Regions from separate parts of the Homo sapiens genome. Here region 2 is linked to region 1. Evidence: promoter capture Hi-C in 16 types of primary human blood cells and fetal thymus (Javierre and others, 2016). All regions are on one chromosome and are shown on one strand. Each heading gives the region's core, a stretch centred on a gene start or on the middle of the fragment in contact. The rest is flanking DNA. Distances are from core to core; before and after follow the strand shown. Region 1 holds the start of MON1B (MON1 vesicular trafficking associated B). Region 2 holds the start of TXNL4B (thioredoxin like 4B).

What was found. The method cuts DNA at HindIII sites, captures the fragments that hold promoters and counts their contacts. A CHiCAGO score of 5 or more calls a contact.
Region 2: a fragment that was not itself captured here is called in contact with the fragment with the promoter of MON1B in region 1 in 1 of 17 cell types (naive CD4 T cells); the score reaches 7.5 in naive CD4 T cells.

Annotation. Positions count from the first base shown.
Region 1 is chr16:77,189,074-77,193,124 of GRCh38, reverse strand. It overlaps MON1B (MON1 vesicular trafficking associated B), which reads right to left and starts at 1,935. Exons shown (of 6, transcript NM_014940.4): 1 at 1,867-1,935; 2 at 1,492-1,649. The coding sequence starts at 1,639. It overlaps LOC124903725, which reads left to right and starts at 2,559. Exons shown (of 1, transcript XM_047435021.1): 1 at 2,559-3,217. The coding sequence starts at 2,559. The coding sequence ends at 2,903. RefSeq lists enhancers at 1,784-1,833, 1,854-2,143, 1,269-2,217. The HindIII fragment of the contact is 24,724 bases long and covers 1-4,051 here.
Region 2 is chr16:72,090,019-72,094,069 of GRCh38, reverse strand. TXNL4B (thioredoxin like 4B) reads left to right here and starts at 450. Exons shown (of 4, transcript NM_017853.3): 1 at 450-703; 2 at 3,284-3,452. The coding sequence starts at 3,321. DHX38 (DEAH-box helicase 38) reads right to left here and starts at 223. Exons shown (of 27, transcript NM_014003.4): 1 at 19-223. RefSeq lists enhancers at 1-227, 288-337, 348-677. The HindIII fragment of the contact is 817 bases long and covers 1,252-2,068 here.

The sequences.
Region 1 (4,051 bases), core at 686-3,185:
GACTCTGGATGACGATTATTCATCTTCAATGATCCCCCATTAACTCCTCTGACCGCTATTTTTTCTCCTGATATCTGCTCACCCAATGGCCACCATTAACATCTATTAATATCTTAACTGTTTGAATGCCCCAACCCCCGCTACTACCCTATCAGTGATGCCCACTGATACCTGATGACCCCTACTAACTCTCCTGGTTGCCCATTTATATTCTTGGTAATGTCCACTATTTCTCCCAATGACTGTCGTTAATATCCACTAACACCCAGATATTTAGGACTCCCCTAATCCACTATTCACTCCCACTGTGGTTCACAAACACCCCAATGACCCCACATTAACAATCATTAACACCTGGTTTTTCAATGACCCTCCATGACTGCCCTGATCCACAAGTTATTCTACTCCATGTCTACTCCCCCCTACCCCCAACAATGACCATCATTAACCTCCACTAACACCCAGCACTTCAGAGACCTTCAGTCACTCCCCTGACCACCTTCAATCTCATTGGTATCCACTCCCCTCCCTACAGTAACCATCATAATATCCACTAACACACAAGACTTTAATGACTTCCATTGCCCCTACCCATGACCATCATTAACATTCACTAAAACCCACAACTTCAACAGCCCCTACTGACACATCCATTTATTCCCATTGATTTCCATTCATCCCCCAATGACAACCATTATTATCCATGTGCAACTATGTCTCAATAATTTTCCCATAAAATCCCAATAATTGCATATTCTGTCACTGACATTCACTGACACTCCCATGTCCCCAAATATCTTTACTCCCTCCTAATAACTGCTCTTACCTGCTATTAATTCCCAAGTCCTCAACCTCCCCATCCACATTTATTCTCAGTGAGGTCCACTGATCCTTCCCAATGACTCCATTTACATCCACTAATTCCAAAGTGATCAATGGCACAGACTTCTCAGTGACTTCCATTAAATCTCAAATGAACAACTTTACACATCCACTAACATTTGGTCCCTTAAAGACTTCCCCAACAGTCTACAAGTGACTTCAATGATGTAAATACTCTGAGTGCCCATCGAACTCCACTGATTCCCCTTCCCACTTCTATTATTTAATAAATAACACCCTACTCCTCAAAAACACTAACTTCTCAACAGTCCTCCTCTGTTGAGTCTATTGACTTTCTTCAGCGCATTCTTTGATCTAAACACTCTAAATCCTCAGTGACCCTCTTTGGTCCTAACAGCCCCCTTTTTGATTCCTCAATGACCTAAACTCACACCAAACCCCCAGTGAACATCCGTTGACAGCCAATGACTTCCTCAATGATGTAAACTACACCATGTGTCCACAGTGACCTCCTCCTGACCCGGCGATGGTTTAAGCCACTTCTCTTAAGTCCCAAGACTCCCTACTGGTCACCCACTGACCCTTCCCCCGTCCAACAATGACAACCCCTAAGGATTCCTTTTAAGACCCCACTAAGTGGAGTCATACCTGTTTCCTCCAGGCCCTCGTCTTCGGGATCCGGCGGGACCGCGTGAACCCCTCCACCTTCTCTAGCTTCCTCACTGGGGAACTGCGTGTCCTCCAAGTCCTCCGCGCCCCCGGGGGCCGGGGCAGCAGTGTCTCCTCCGACCTCCATCTGCACATCCCTGAGTGGGAGGGGAATCGAGGGTGACGGGCGGTGAAAGAAACTTCTGAAAAGCCTTTATAGAGTCAGGCCCCCTTGGACACACTCCTACTGCTCATTTCCCCACGGATTTCAATAGGACGAGACATCCAAAATCATGCCCAAATACGTCCCCCCTCCAACACTTTCCGAAAAGAGGAGACTCTACTGGGCCTCAGGAAATAGAGATATACAAACACCTGTTTTAACTCCGAATCTCAATTGGCCGGATACCATTACTTCCCCGTAGCGGCGGTGGCATCACACTTCCGGGTGCGGCCCGGGAGGTGCCACACTTCCGGGTACGACCCCTCCCAGAAGACACTTCCGGTTGCGGAGCTTTATTGGCTCCTCGCGGCGTCCCTCTCCCGCCGCCTACGGGTGTCCCCTCATAGTTGAGATGGCGCGGGCCACTTCGGATCTACGTCAGGTCTGTTCGGGAGCGCAATGAGACCTCTCTGCACTCCTTTCAACGGATCTGGCTACGGCTGCTAACCCGGGAGAGCGAGGCCCACTTCGCTTACCAGTGGTTGGCGTGAGGGGGGACGCGGCTCGCTCTAGCCAATCCCGGAGTACATAGGGCGCGACCGTCTTCTTTCTGGGCCAATCGAGATGAGCCGCCTCATTTCCCCGCTGTCTACTCCCCCCGCCAAATCCTAACCAATACTGTGCGTTGTGTTGCGTTTGCACACGCCCATCCATTGATTGACGTCTCCCTCGACCCAATCGAAGACTCGAGCCTATTCCTTGTTTCACAAGAGGACTTTTGCAGCGTCAGTCCCGATGGATACCTGTGCCGGACCCACAAACGGGCTCTCCCAGAACTGAGGCAACTCCACTTTCTCTTATCCCTTAACCCTGCCAAGAAAGTCAAGGGAGGGGAGAGGCGCGAATGCTTGACGGGCAGTCGCCGCTTCTAATCAGCGTGCCGCGCCAGCAGCTCCGTACCCTGCCGGGTTCCCACGTCTACCTGCAGCTGGGGGAAGAACTCTGCCAGCCCAGGGCAGGGGCGGGCACTCACTTGGACCAGGACCTGCCCGACGCCCCCGGTCCGCCGGGCGAACGGGTCGTCACTTTCTGTGATCAGTTTGGGAAAAGGCTTGGGGGCCCTGCCACGGGCCAGTGTGGGAACCCAGGGTTCGAATTCCCGCCCCGACGCTGCTTCCGGACCGAAAGCCCCCTGAACGCCTTGCCCCAAGTGCCCTGGGCCTTGGTTTCTCCATCAGTGAAACAATGATGGGAATCGCTTGACGTGAAGTGAGTGGAGGTGCTGGCACACTTCGAGTGATTGCTAAGGGGAAGCCTTTGGTACTAGTTAGGATAATTATTTTAATTACAGTATAGTTAGGGTAATGAATTCCAAATACCAGTGTAGCATCATGTGCTTTATATACAATAGGTAATCGATAAGTAATAAATATTAAATTTATATAACAGAAACAATGGATAAATTTATGTGCATACAAAATATATTTACCTAATACATTTAGAAGTATATAATATATAATAAACATGTAAAAAAGTACAATAAAATAACATCTCATAAGCAAACTTATTTATTAATCTCGCTGTGTTACCCAGGCTGGAGTGCAATGGCAAAATGTTATTGACTCATTGCAGCCTCCGTCTCCCGGGTTCAAGCAATTCTCCTGCCTCAGCCTCTGGAGTAGCTGGGATTACAGGTGCCCGCCACCACGTCCGGCTAATTTTTGTATTTTTAGTAGACATGGGGTTTCGCCATGTTGGCCAGGCTGGTCTTGAACTCCCGACCTCAGGTGATTCACCCGCCTCAGCTTCCCAAATTGCTGGGATTACAGGAGTGAGCCATCATGCCCAGCCCAGGGCTACACACTTTAAACAACCAGATCTCGCAATAACTCCCTCAGTCACTGTCACCAAGAGGATGATGCTAAACCATTCATGAAGGATTCACCCCCAAGATCCGATCAACTCCCACCAGACCCCACCTTCAATAATGGGGATTACCATTCGACATCAGATTTCGGTGGGAACATAGATCCAAACCTTATCAGGGGAGTAGAGGAATAGTTACGCCTTCATCTAGCTTTGTCAATCTGCATTTTTACCTCAGAGGAAGCAATCAGATATGCATTTGTTTCAGGTGAGCAGAGGGATGACTTGGGGTTCGCTCCTTTGTCTCGCACCTGTGAAGATAAACTATCAATTTACGTTGTCAGGGTAAAATTCAACAGAACCGTTTTAGGGTAAAGATCTTGCAGCCCACAAGGAATCCCTAGAGGGCAAATTATGAGGGAAGTATGTAGCTTTATCTTTGTAAATATCTTATTTAGGGATAAACTGGGAGGCAGGTTTGCCTGATGCAGTTCCCAGCTTGACTTTTACCTTTGGCTTAGTAATTTTGGA
Region 2 (4,051 bases), core at 411-2,910, 5.1 Mb after region 1:
GGAAGAAGGGACTCTCACCTCACCAAGCGCGACTCTTGGGACCCTTCTGTCCCGGATTCTGGGGCGCCGGCGCTGCCACCCCTCGCTCAGACAGGCTCAAGGAGCCAAAATCCACACCTTGAAAGCGGCCATTATTGTCCCTTAATACTTTGCGCGCCCCCTCTATCCGCCCAAAGCTACCATAGAGAGCAGCCTGGAACACGCCCGATTCCTGGATCCAAGTGTGGAACGGTACGCCAACAGGCTCTCAAGGCCTCCTCTGGGGCTCTGATCAGACACTTCCGAGTCTCCTTGTGACCAATCACTCTTAGCCTAAGAGACTACATCCCGCCTCTAGTCTGGGGGCAGGAAAAGGAGGGGAAAAAGGTCGACCATCTTTAATACGGGCGGAGGTGACGCCTAGCTTCCGGTCAGAGCCGAGCAAGGTGGGCGGTGACTAGAAGCTCTTCCGTTTATTGGGCTGTTGAGCGGGGGCCGACCGACGGCCAGGAGTTTCTTTTCTGCGCTTGTGCGTTTTCTGTTCGGTTTCCTTCCCGCTAGCGGGGCCACGAGGGTTGCTAGGCAACAGCCCCTGGGTGACTTGGTCTTAGGGTCCTGTCCGGCTTGGGGCTGATGAAAGGAGCTGTCCGCGCCCGGGCTCTTCCGAGAAGTGGTTGCTGACAGCCACAAAGTGAAAGGGAGTGAGGCGGCGTGGACGAGTAAGGTAAGTGCTGGGGTCCCTTAGCGCTTGTGGGCCAGGAGCAGCGCAACACAGGTGACTTTAAATATGTATATCGGATATTTTGGAAAATGGAGATGCGCGCCCGGCTGTAAATAAAAATCACCCATGCGTTCACACGCAGAGATGACCACTGATTTCCAGTTGTTTTTCTGGAATACATTGTAGTAAGATTCTGTACAAAAGTGAGTTCAAGCTTTTTTTCTTTTTTTGGTGTTTCTGCAGTTGTGGCGCGCGCCTGAGGTTCCAGCTACTCGGGAGGCTGAGGCGGGAGGATTGCTTGAGCCTGGGGAGTTGAGACCAGCCTGGGCAACATAGCGAAACCCCGCCTCAGAAAAAGAGAGGGAGAGAGGAAAGCAGTGGAGTTATTGGTCAAAGAGTATGTCAGTTTTCTTTCCAGAAAGGTTTTGTGTCTGCATTCCAGCAGGAACTCCCTGTGCCTGCCCCTACCACTATCTTGTTTAATTTTTGCCAATTCAGTGACTTTGTAAACATATGTTTTAATTTGCTTTTCTTTGCTTACTGGTAAAGCTTAACTTTTTAGTTTATTTACTGTCCATTTGTACGTCTTCTTTTGGGAATTCTCTGTGGGTATCATTTACTATGGACATTTTCTTAGATGTGGTCTCAGTTTTCCTCTCCTGCTTCCAACGTTTGTCCAGTTGCACCCCTAGCCTCACCACTAACAACTTTGTTCTCCCCTTACTTTCTCCTTTCGATCAGTAACACGGAGGAACTGCTGTTTGTTTGAATTCTAGTGGGACAGATCCGTCTTCTCTTTGACCTTCCCTTTCATTGGTAATTTGTTCTGCTGCTCACATCTGATGACGTCCCTTTGGGCCATCAATGTCCCTGTTTAAAGTATGACCTATAGCTGGAACAATCTTATTTCCTATGTGAATTTTAGTTAAATAATTCCTTTTTTTTTTTTTGGAGACGGAGCTTCGCTCTTGTTGCCTTGCCCAGGCTGGAGTGCAGTGGAGCGATCCTAGCTCACTGCAACCTCCGCCTCCAGGGTTCAAGCAATTCTCCTGCCTCAGCCTCCTGAGTAGCTTGGATTACAGGTGGCATCTGCCACCACGCCCGGCTAATTTTTTGTATTTTTAGTAGAGACGGGGTTTCACCATGTTGGCCAGGCTGGTCTCGAATTCCTGGCCATAGGTGATCCACCCTCCTTGGCCTCCCAAAGTGCTGGGATTACAGGGGTGAGCCTGGCCTAATTCGTATCTTAAAATGTGACTTGTGACAAAAAAAATAGGAAAAGAAATCCTCCCTTTTCATATTTGGAACTGAATTCAAAATACCGACCATCTCAATGGAGTCTCTTATAGATGACCACAAAACTAAGCTTCTTTGTCAAAGAGTTTCTCAAAAATGAAATTTCTACCAATCATGAAAATAGATTATTGTAGTAGAAGGACCCCTGGACTAGAAATTTGGTGGCCTGTATTCTAGTCCTTGTCATTGTAGTAGAAAGTGCAACTGTAAGCAAGCTAGTTTGTAAAATGACGGGGTTGTATTAGGTCCCTTGTACCTCAGTATTTTATTATTTGTTTATGGTATTGTAGTTTTCACACACACTCTTAATTGATCTGTTTGCCGTGTAATGAGGTGCACCTAGTAAGGTGCACACGAAGAATCTTTAAGCCAGGACTTGTAATAATATAAAGTATACAATAAAGGACTGTTTAAAAAGTGTAACACATGCAAGAAATAATATGCTGCCATGACAGAGAATATGGATGTTCTCTATATAGAGATATGGGGCAATCTTCATAGGTTAGGTTTGAAATAATGAAAAGTGCTGAAGAGTAGATAAAGTGTGTGTGCTGAACATCTGCCATTGGTCCCTCCACAGCCATTCTTCATCCTCCTCTAGACTGCTCTGGGACAGGGAGGTTTGCCTGCCTCAACAGGCCCCTGCCCTCTGGTTCCAGTTGGAGTCAGCCGGTGGTTGCATGAGCAAAGGTCAGAGGGAGGGAGGAGAGTGGCTGCAACACCTAACAGCAGGCTGCCCTCCTATACACTGTCCTCTCCACTCACCTCTTTCTGCCACACAATTCTTATAACTGCTTCCTACCGTGGCTTCTTCCTCCCATGGCCTAGGGATGGGTACAGCATCCCGCTGTTACTAGCCCCAAAGTAGTACACTTTACCGTATTGTTTTTCTACACCTGCCTTAATTAAACTGCCTTCAAATTACCAAAGTTGAGAGTGTCATCGCTTTCCTGCTGGAACACTGATACAATAGGCTATCTTTTGGGGGTGGGGAGAGAGAGAAAAAAAATATCGGAACGCATATTTGTATTTTTTGGTGAATGCATAACAAAACTCTGAAAGATACATGAGAAACTAATGAAAGCAGTTATCTGGCCCGGGGGAGGGAACAATGAAAACTGGTTCCAAGGAGCAGGGACAAAGAGAGGGAAACTCCACAGTGTTACCTTTCTATGATGTTTCTTTCATACCATGTGAATACATTAGCTACTCTGTGAATTAATTTTTTTTAATGAGGGCTCACGCACTTAATCTAAACTGTCTTTAAACATTGCACCTTTATTTCAGGAGTGACAGTGAGGATTCACATTTGGGTTATTTCAAGATGAGCTTCCTACTGCCCAAGCTGACTAGCAAAAAGGAAGTAGACCAGGCGATAAAAAGTACTGCTGAGAAGGTGTTGGTTCTCAGGTTTGGGAGAGATGAAGATCCTGTCTGTCTGCAGCTAGATGATATTGTAAGTGAATGTCTAAAATAATTGGTTTTTATTAATAATCTGTATATTCTCACTTCAGCATCTGAGTAGTACATGAGAGGGAGTAGTCAGGGTTGGGTATATAGCTGTTCATTTGTTAGTTCACTAAGAGCTGATTGTGTGCCTGCCCTGAACCAAGCCCCCAAATCTGTGTGTGCTGAATCTGTCTTGGATGTCCTTACCCACTAGAAGCTGTCAATGCTGTTTCACCAACAAGGTGATGGAAGAGCAGAAAACTATTAACAAGCATCTGTGAACACTATCTTTTCAGTGCTCGCAATAGTGGGATAATAGTAGCCCCATTTCCCAGTAGGAAAAAAAAAACCAGAGAGGTCAAGTAATTTCCCACAGGTGCAGATCCACTATATTGCAGAGTTGAGATTTGAACTCAGTTTTCTGTAGCTGCAAATAATCTTTTCTAGTGTGCTGCCTCCAGTATGTGCCTGATGCAGAGAGAGACCTAACCCAGAACTAAGACCTCTTACCGCCATTTCTACTGCTACCATCCCGTGTAAGAGCTGAGCGTACAAATCCTCATTTCCGTGGTTACAATGAGGGTGTGATGTGTTAGCTTGGGGAAA